2 separate regions of the Homo sapiens genome follow, and region 2 is linked to region 1. Evidence: promoter capture Hi-C in human tissues and cell types (Jung and others, 2019). All regions are on one chromosome and are shown on one strand. Each heading gives the region's core, a stretch centred on a gene start or on the middle of the fragment in contact. The rest is flanking DNA. Distances are from core to core; before and after follow the strand shown. Region 1 holds the start of PSEN2 (presenilin 2). Region 2 overlaps RNF187 (ring finger protein 187).

The links. Contacts are between HindIII fragments. The study calls those that stand out against the background at their distance.
Region 2: a fragment that was not itself captured here is called in contact with the fragment with the promoter of PSEN2 in region 1 in 1 of the 25 tissues and cell types used here (bladder).

What each region holds. Positions count from the first base shown.
Region 1 is chr1:226,868,094-226,872,188 of GRCh38, reverse strand. It overlaps PSEN2 (presenilin 2), which reads right to left and starts at 1,573. Exons shown (of 13, transcript NM_000447.3): 1 at 1,540-1,573; 2 at 785-927. It overlaps LOC105373119 (a long non-coding RNA gene), which reads left to right and starts at 1,639. Exons shown (of 3, transcript XR_949226.4): 1 at 1,639-1,827. RefSeq lists silencers at 1,111-1,160, 1,171-1,770. The HindIII fragment of the contact is 9,487 bases long and covers 1-4,095 here.
Region 2 is chr1:228,496,036-228,499,921 of GRCh38, reverse strand. It overlaps RNF187 (ring finger protein 187), which reads right to left. Exons shown (of 4, transcript NM_001010858.3): 4 at 3,734-3,886. Among named protein-coding and RNA genes, the nearest start is that of RNF187, 11 kb to the right of the region's middle. The HindIII fragment of the contact is 3,191 bases long and covers 930-3,886 here.

The DNA of each region.
Region 1 (4,095 bases), core at 324-2,823:
GAGACAGGTGTGACATTATGCACCACAGCTCCAGGCACCCCAGCAGCAGCCCCTAGCCCTTGCTCCTCCTCCTCCTTGCTGCTCTTTCAAATAGACAGGAACAAGCCACTCACTCCCCACATGTGAACATGCTGGACTCAAGACTTGGCACATGGGCACTTCAACACCAAAGGGTACAGAGTTTTCCCCAAAAACCTGATACATCCATCCCACTTCAAAGCAACATGCCCCCAAGCCCTCACTCCAGTCTCTGCCCTGGAACCCAAGGCTCAACGTGGGCGTCGTGAGGACGCAGCTCTGAGGTGGGGCCAAGAACCAGGCCCCTTCTGCACCTGCGCCAGTCACCGGCTGCCCACAACCACATTCAGGAGAGAAGAACCTGAGGCTCACACACCTGAAGCAGCTTATCCCGAGACTCCAATTACCGCCAAAGGTCTTGGCTGAAGGCCTTGGAGGCTCAGGTGTCTGCAGAATTGGCTACAGAGGCATCAGAGGCTTCCTTACTGGAAGCTGGGGTCGGTCCTAATCAAGTTACTTCGTAGACAGCCTTGGCAACCCCAGGCTGTCGCTTCTGAGTTAAGTTAGTCTACAATCGTCTCTATGGAATGCTCTCAGGTTCTCCATTTGTAAATAGGGATGCAGTTACTTCACTCAACACCGTTCATACCTTTCAAAGGGAATACTTATTAAGGCAATAAACAGGGGTGAGGTCTGCTCGGAGGGATGGACAGCAGATCTAGAAGCCAGGACACTGGGGTCGAAGCCTGGCTCTGCTATATCGTACCTGGGCGACCTTGGGAAAAGTCACTTTAGCTCTGTGGCCTCAGTTTCTTCATCAGTAAAATTCAGAGGGGGGACTAGCTTCTGTCTCAGGTTCCTTCAGCTCCAAAAGCTTGCTTCTGGCTGTCTCCTCACTGCTGGAAATGCCTGATAAAACAGCCAAACACCGCTGCTAACAGAAACCGGCTCTAGGCTTGAGCCTGCGGCCCTGCCCCTCACGTGCGGGCAGAGCCCCCGCGCGCCTCCTTCCCGGGGAAAGCATGCCCAGGACCCGGTGCTAGAGGCCGAATGGACTCGGCGCAACGGAGGTCTCCGGCGAGAGAGAAGAAGAACAAAACGCCCCCGCCTGCTACACGCCTCAGAGACCCACGTGCACCGCTCCTTTAAATGCACCGGCCCTTTAACCGCTCGCGCCGCGCCCACCCCCAGCCGGGGCTCGGCGGCAGGCGGGCGCAGGGAAGTGGGGACGCAGTGAGGCCGAAGGCCTGAGGGCCGCTCCCCGCGATCCTTCCACGACCCAGTTCCGGGCCGGCCCAGCCGCCGCCTGCCGGGCACTCTCCTCTCTCCGCCCCCGCGCTGGCCGCAGAGGCCAGGAGCGCTGCGCACGCAGGGGCCGCAGACCCACAGCCGGGGAAGGGACCGTGGCCAGAGGCGTGCGGAGGGCAGGGCAGGGCCCTCAGGGCGCAGCCCCACCCCGGGCCCTCAGCGCCGCAGGCGACAGGGCCCTGGCCTGGGCACCCCCCGGCACCGCCCGCTCACCTGCTCTGCCGCCGCGCTCCAGCGGAGTTTACGCAGCTGGCTGAGCGCCCGGCCGGACCCGGCGCCGGCCCAGGCCCCGCCCCACGCCCGCCCAGGCCACGCCCGGTGGGCGACGCCGCGTTCCCTCGTCCACTGGGGCCCCACCTGGAGTCCCGGGCGCGCGGGGAGGGTGGCCTTCACGCCGCGTGGATGACAGGGTCATCCCGACGTCGGAACTAAGCGACGACCTTAGAAGGAGTGGAGGCCGGGCCTGTCATCTTCCTGCGGGCCTGGCAGCAGCGTGGGGCGGTAGGACATAGGCTTCGAGGACACTCTTTCTTGTAGTTTTGGGTCCACATCCCCTCCTCCTCCCGGTTGTTCTCACATTAAAGGAGCACTAATGGCCCAATGTGAGCTAACACCATGAGAATGTTCCTGGTCTGTTCCCTAGGGCGCTTCAGAGCCACCAGGAGCTCTGCATAAAATTGAACAGGAATAAATTGCTGCCTGACCTGAGAATTGGCCTAGGGGGTTGTGGTTCCAGGATTTGGGGTCTGTGGGGTAGGTTGAGATTGTCAATAATTTGGCGTTGTCTGAGTAGTTTTACTTTTTTTTTTTTAACTTAAGGTGAAATTCACATAACATAAAATTTACCATTTTAAAGTGGGCATTTCAGTGGCATTTAGTGAATTCACAATGCTGTGCAACCACCACCTCTGTCTAGTTCCAAAACATTTTCCTCATTCCGAAAGAAAAACCCCATACCCATTGAGAAGTTTCTTCCCAATGCCCTCTTCCCCCCCAGCCCCTGGCAATTACCAGTCTACTTCTGTCTCTATATTTACTTACTTTAGATACTTCATATAAACGGAATCACAGTGTGTGGACTTTTGTGTCTTTCACTTAGCATGTTTTCGAGGTTCATCCTCAGGTAGCATGTAACAGACTTTATTCCTTTTTATGACTGAATAGTGTTTGTGTGTGTATATGTATATGTGTGTGCGTGTGTGTGTGTGTATCATGTATGCCACAGTTTATTCATCTATGGACATTGGGGCTGTTTGCATCTTTTGGCTTTGTGAATAATGCTACCATGAACATGCATGTACATGTATTTGTTTGAGAGCCCATTTTTATTTGGGGAGGGTACATACATAGGGGTTGAATTGTTGGATCGCATGGTAATTCAATTTTTTTTTTTTTTTGAGACAGAGCCTTGCTCTGTTGCCCAGCCTAGAGTGCAGTGGCCGCAATCTTGGCTCACTGCAACCTCTGCCTCCCAGGTTCGAGCAATTATCTTGCCTCGGCCTCCTGAGTAGCTGGAGTTACAGGTGTGTGCCACCACATCTGGCTAATTTTTGTATTTTTAGTAGAGATGGGGTTTCCCCATGTTGGCCAGGCTGGTCTTGATCCTGAACTCAAGTTATCTGCCTGCCTTGGCCTCCCACAGTGCTGGATTATAGGCATGAGCCACCGTGCCCAGCCTTCAGTGTTTAACTATTTGGGGAACCCCAAGTGGTTTCCACGATGGCTGAACCATTTTATATTCCTACCAGCAATGTACAGGATCCCAATTTCTCCACATCCTCACCAACACTTGTTATTTTCCATTTTATTGTTATCCTAGTAGGTGTGCAGCGGTACCTCATTCTGGTTTTGGTTTACATTTTCCTAATAACTAATGCTATTAAGCATTCTCCTTTTCATGTGTTTGTTGGCCATCTGTATATCTTCTTTGGAGACATGCCTATTCAAGTCCTTTGCCCATTTTAAAATTGGGTTGTCTTTTTGTTGTTGGGTTGTAAGAGTTCTTTATATATTCTGGACACTAGACCCTTATCAGATATATGCTTTGCAAATATTTCTCTCCCATTCTGTAATTGTCTTTTTCACTTTCTGATGTCCTTTCATGCACATAAAACTTTAATTTTGATGAACTTCAGCTTAACTGTTTTTTCTTTTGTTGTTTGTGCATTTGGTGTCCTGTGTGAGATATCATTGTCAAATCCAAGGTTGTGAAGATTTACTCCTGTGTTTTCTTCTAAGAGTTTTATAGTTTTAGCTCCTATATTTAGGTTGTTGATCCATTTTAAGATAATTTTTGTATGTAGTGTGAGGTTAGGGTCCAAGTTCATTGTTTTGCATGTGGACTTCTAGTTGTCCCAGCACCATTCGTTGAAGAGATTGTCCTTTTCCTATTGAATTGTCTTGGCTTCTTGTCAAAAATCAATTGGCCATAGATGGATGGGGAAAACCAAATATTTTCAAAGAGCTGTTTAAATGCAGATTAACCCTGGATGGAACTGGGGCAGGCCAGCATTTTGGCTAAGAAAATAATGGTCCAAATAATGATCTTTGATAAATTTGAGAAATTAATTACATTTAACAGAATTATAAAAATAATCGATTCTTGGAAAAGGAAGGACACCTGAAGGTCACAAAGTCCAACTCTAACTGATGCATATGAGCCCTTGCTACAGAATTCCTGGGAAATAACTCCCCAACCTGGTTTGTTGTTGTTGTTGTTTTGAAACAGGGTCTTGCTTTTTCGCCCAGGCTGGAGTGCAGTGGCACGAT
Region 2 (3,886 bases), core at 1,276-3,775, 1.6 Mb before region 1:
AATGAAACAACAAAGCCTACATGACAGCACATCTGTTTACTGCATGGTTTACTATTTTAAGTCCATTAAAATATTAAAATAGCCATTAACACAACATTCAAGTCTTATTAACTTTCAAGTTAACTTCCATAATTAACTTTCAAGTCTTATTATTTAAGACATTTCATAAGGCTACAGCTGCCTTAGACAATGATTCCTCTGATGGATCTGGGAGAAAATTTTTAAAAACCTGCTGGAAAGGATTCACCATTCTAGATGCCTTAAGAACATTCATGATTCATGGGAGGAGGTCAAAACAGCAACATGAACAGGAGTTTGGAAGATGTTGATTCCAGCCCTCATGGATGACTCTGAGCGATCCCGGACTTCAGGGGAGGAAGTCACTGCAGATGTGGTGGAAACAGCAAGAGAACGAGAATTGGAAGTGGAGCCTGGAGATGGGACTGAATTGCTGCAGTCTCATGAGAAAACATGAATGGATGACAAGTTGCTTCTTATGGATGAACAAAGGAAGTGTTTTCTTGAGATGGAATCTACTTCTGGTGAAGATGCTGTGCACACGGTTGAAATGACAACAAAGGATTTAGAATTGACATCAACTTAGTTGATAAAGCAGTGGCAGGGTTTGAGAAGAGTGACTCTAATTTTTAAAGATGTTATGTGGGTAAACTGCTATCAAACAGCAACACATGCTACAGAGAAGTCTTTTGAATGGAAGTCAATTGATGTGACAAACTTCATTGTCTTATTTTAAGAAATTGCCACAGCAACCCCAAACTCCAGCAGCCACCACCCTAATTAGTCAGCAGCCACCAACATTGAGGCAAGACCCTCCCCCAGCAAAAAGATGGCAATTCACTGAACACTCAGATGATCATTAGCATTTTTTAGCAACAAAGTATTTTAAAATTAAGGTACATACATTGGCTTTTTTAGACATAATGCTACTGCATACTTAGTAGACTACATTACAGCCTATAAAAGCATTTTATATGCACTTGGAAACCAAACATTTCATGGGACTTGCTTTATTGCAGTATTTGCTGTATTGCAATGGTCTAGAAGCAAACCCATGGTTTCTCCAAGGTATGCCTTTTAGTTTGACCCCAGACTGCACTCCAAAGCAGCGGCCTTATTCTACACTCCTCACAGCACCTCTGGGCTCACCTAATGTGCCATCATCACTCAGACTTCAACATCACCTAGTGCTGCAGTTCCCACCACCCGCCCGAACCACCCCCGCCCCAACCCACCCCGAGCTAAAGCAGTATCTCATTATGGTTTTAATTATGATTCTCCAGTTACTAAATAGTTTAAGCATCTCCTTATATTTTGCTGCTGTCAACCTCATGAAATAATAGCTACTCAGTTAGGTAATGTAGAAGGTAAAATGGCCCCAAGCATTTTTATCTCCTCTCTTTGGCCACAGGATCCTGAAACTGAAAACGACCTTTGGGTCCCAACTATCCACGGCTTTCCCACAAAGCTCTGAAAATAAGAGTTGAGAAAAAAGTATTGAGCTACTGGACAAATACATCAGTGTCTTGAGAATGTGTCCCCTACCTTCCAGCAAACAAACTGTTGCTTTTCTATGCAGTGCCTGGCCTCAGTTTCCTTCCACATGTCACCCACAGCCAGCCTCGGAGATCCTCCTGCCTAGGGCTGCCCTTGACCAGAGAGATCTGGTTGCAGCAAAGCCACAGGGACACCAGTGGCTCCTCAGAGCTTGCGTGGTCAAGGGCTGAGGAAGGGCGTCTGTTTCAAGCCATTTCTATAAAACACCCTGTGGGAGCAGACCTGAAGGAGAGGGGCAACCGCCACACAGGTATGGGGGAGAAATGTTCCCTGGAGATCAGAGGCCGAGGCAGGGCCCACCTGGCTTGCTGAAGAACAGAGAGGCCATCATGCTGGGTCTGCAGGGAGCAGGGGGCACAGTGGTGACGAGAGAGGAAGAGCTCGGGGTGGATTATGTAGCACTTCCCAGGCCACTGCGAAGCTTTCCCGGAATGAATCTGAGTTGCTGCAGGGCCTTGAGTACAGCAGGGGCAGGCTCTTGCTTAGTTTTTATTTTCATTGTTTTAATAAATTTCATTGTGTATATTTAAGGTATGCAACGTGATGTTACAAAGTACAAACAGATAGCAAAATGGTCACTACAGGGGAGCAATTAACATTCCCATCACCTCCCAGAGTCAACCACTTTTAGGATTTTGTGGCAAGAGCAGCTGAAGTCTAGTCATTTAGCAGGAACTCCCAAAACAGTGCAATTTTATTACCTACATTCCTCCTGTTGTACATCGGATCACCAGACTGGTTCATCCTACATATTTTAAAGTAGAAACCCATCTACCTGCTGGGTTGAGAATGCATTGTTGGAGCAGCGGGAGGAGATGAGGTCCCCAGGTCTCCTGGGCAGAAGAGGACAGTGCCAGTGGGCCACGGTGGGGGACTGGCGGGGAGCAGGTAAGATGAGGTCAAGGTCTTTGGCTACAGGAAGAGCCTGCAGGATTCCTTTGCAGACCTATTGTGGACTGTTAGAGAAAACAACTCAGAGACAGCTCTGAGATGTCTGAGGACTGCAGGGATTGGGCCCCTGGGCAAGTCTGGGATGGAGGCAGTGGTTGGACCTGGAAGAGGGTTTGGGAGAGAGACCCACGTCAGAGAGGCAAGTGTGAGGTCACCATGGGGGGCTGGATAGGACAGAGAGGCCACACGAGGATGCCAAGGGTTCTTCCACATGAAGAGGGTGGAGTGGAGAGGACACAAGGGAGACGGAGGAGCATCAGCAAGGCCAGAGAAAGCCCTTGTGGAGGGAATGTCCCTACACAAAAATCCATTCAAAACAGACAAGGGCTTAATTGTAAGGCCTGAAACTGTAAAGCCAGTAGAAGAAAACACAGGTGAAAAACTCCATGACACTGGCCTAGGTTTCAGGGTTGTATCACTTCTTGCATATGACCCTAAAAGCACAAGCAACAAAAGAAAAATAAACATACATGATTGCATAGAGCTAAAAAGCTTCTGCACAGCAAAGGAAATCATAAACAGAGTGAAGACAACTCACAAATTGGGATAGAGTATTTGCAAACCATACATTAAGTAGGGGGTTAATATCCAAAATATACATGGAACTCAAACTCAATAGCAGGAAAGCAAATAAACGACTAAAAAATGAGCAAAGAACCTGAAGAGACACTTCTCAAAAGAAGACATACCAATGGCCAACAGGTATATAAAAAAATGCTCAACATCATTAATCATCAGGGAAACGTAAACCAAATCACAATGAGATTATCTCACACTTCTTAGAATGACTAATTTCAAAGAAAATAAATGTTGGTGAGTATGTAAATTATTATAGCCATTATGGAGAAGCATATGGAGGTTATTCAAAAACTTAAAAAGAGTACCGTGACCCAGCAATCCTACTGCTAAGTATTTTCCCAAAGGAAACGACATGAATATATGGAAGAGATACCCACACTCCTGTGTTTCTTAAGAGCACTTTTACAACAGTCAAGATACGGAATCAACCTACGTGGTCTAGAAGCAAAGTGATAAAGGGATAAAGTGGATAAATGGCTTAAGAAAATGTGGTGTATACACATCATGGAATACTATTTGGCCATAAAAAAGGAAACCCTGCCATTTGCAACATGGGTGAATTTACAGGACATTTATATTAAGTGAAATAAGCCAGGAACAGGACAAATATCACATGATCTCACTTATATGTGGAATCAAAATGTTGATTTATAGAATTAGAGAGTAGAACGGTGGTTAGCAGGGGCTGAGACAAGAGGATTTGGGGAAATTCTAGTCAGAGGGTACAGAGTCCCTGCTATACAAGAATAAACTCAAGGTCTATTGCACAGCATGGTGACTT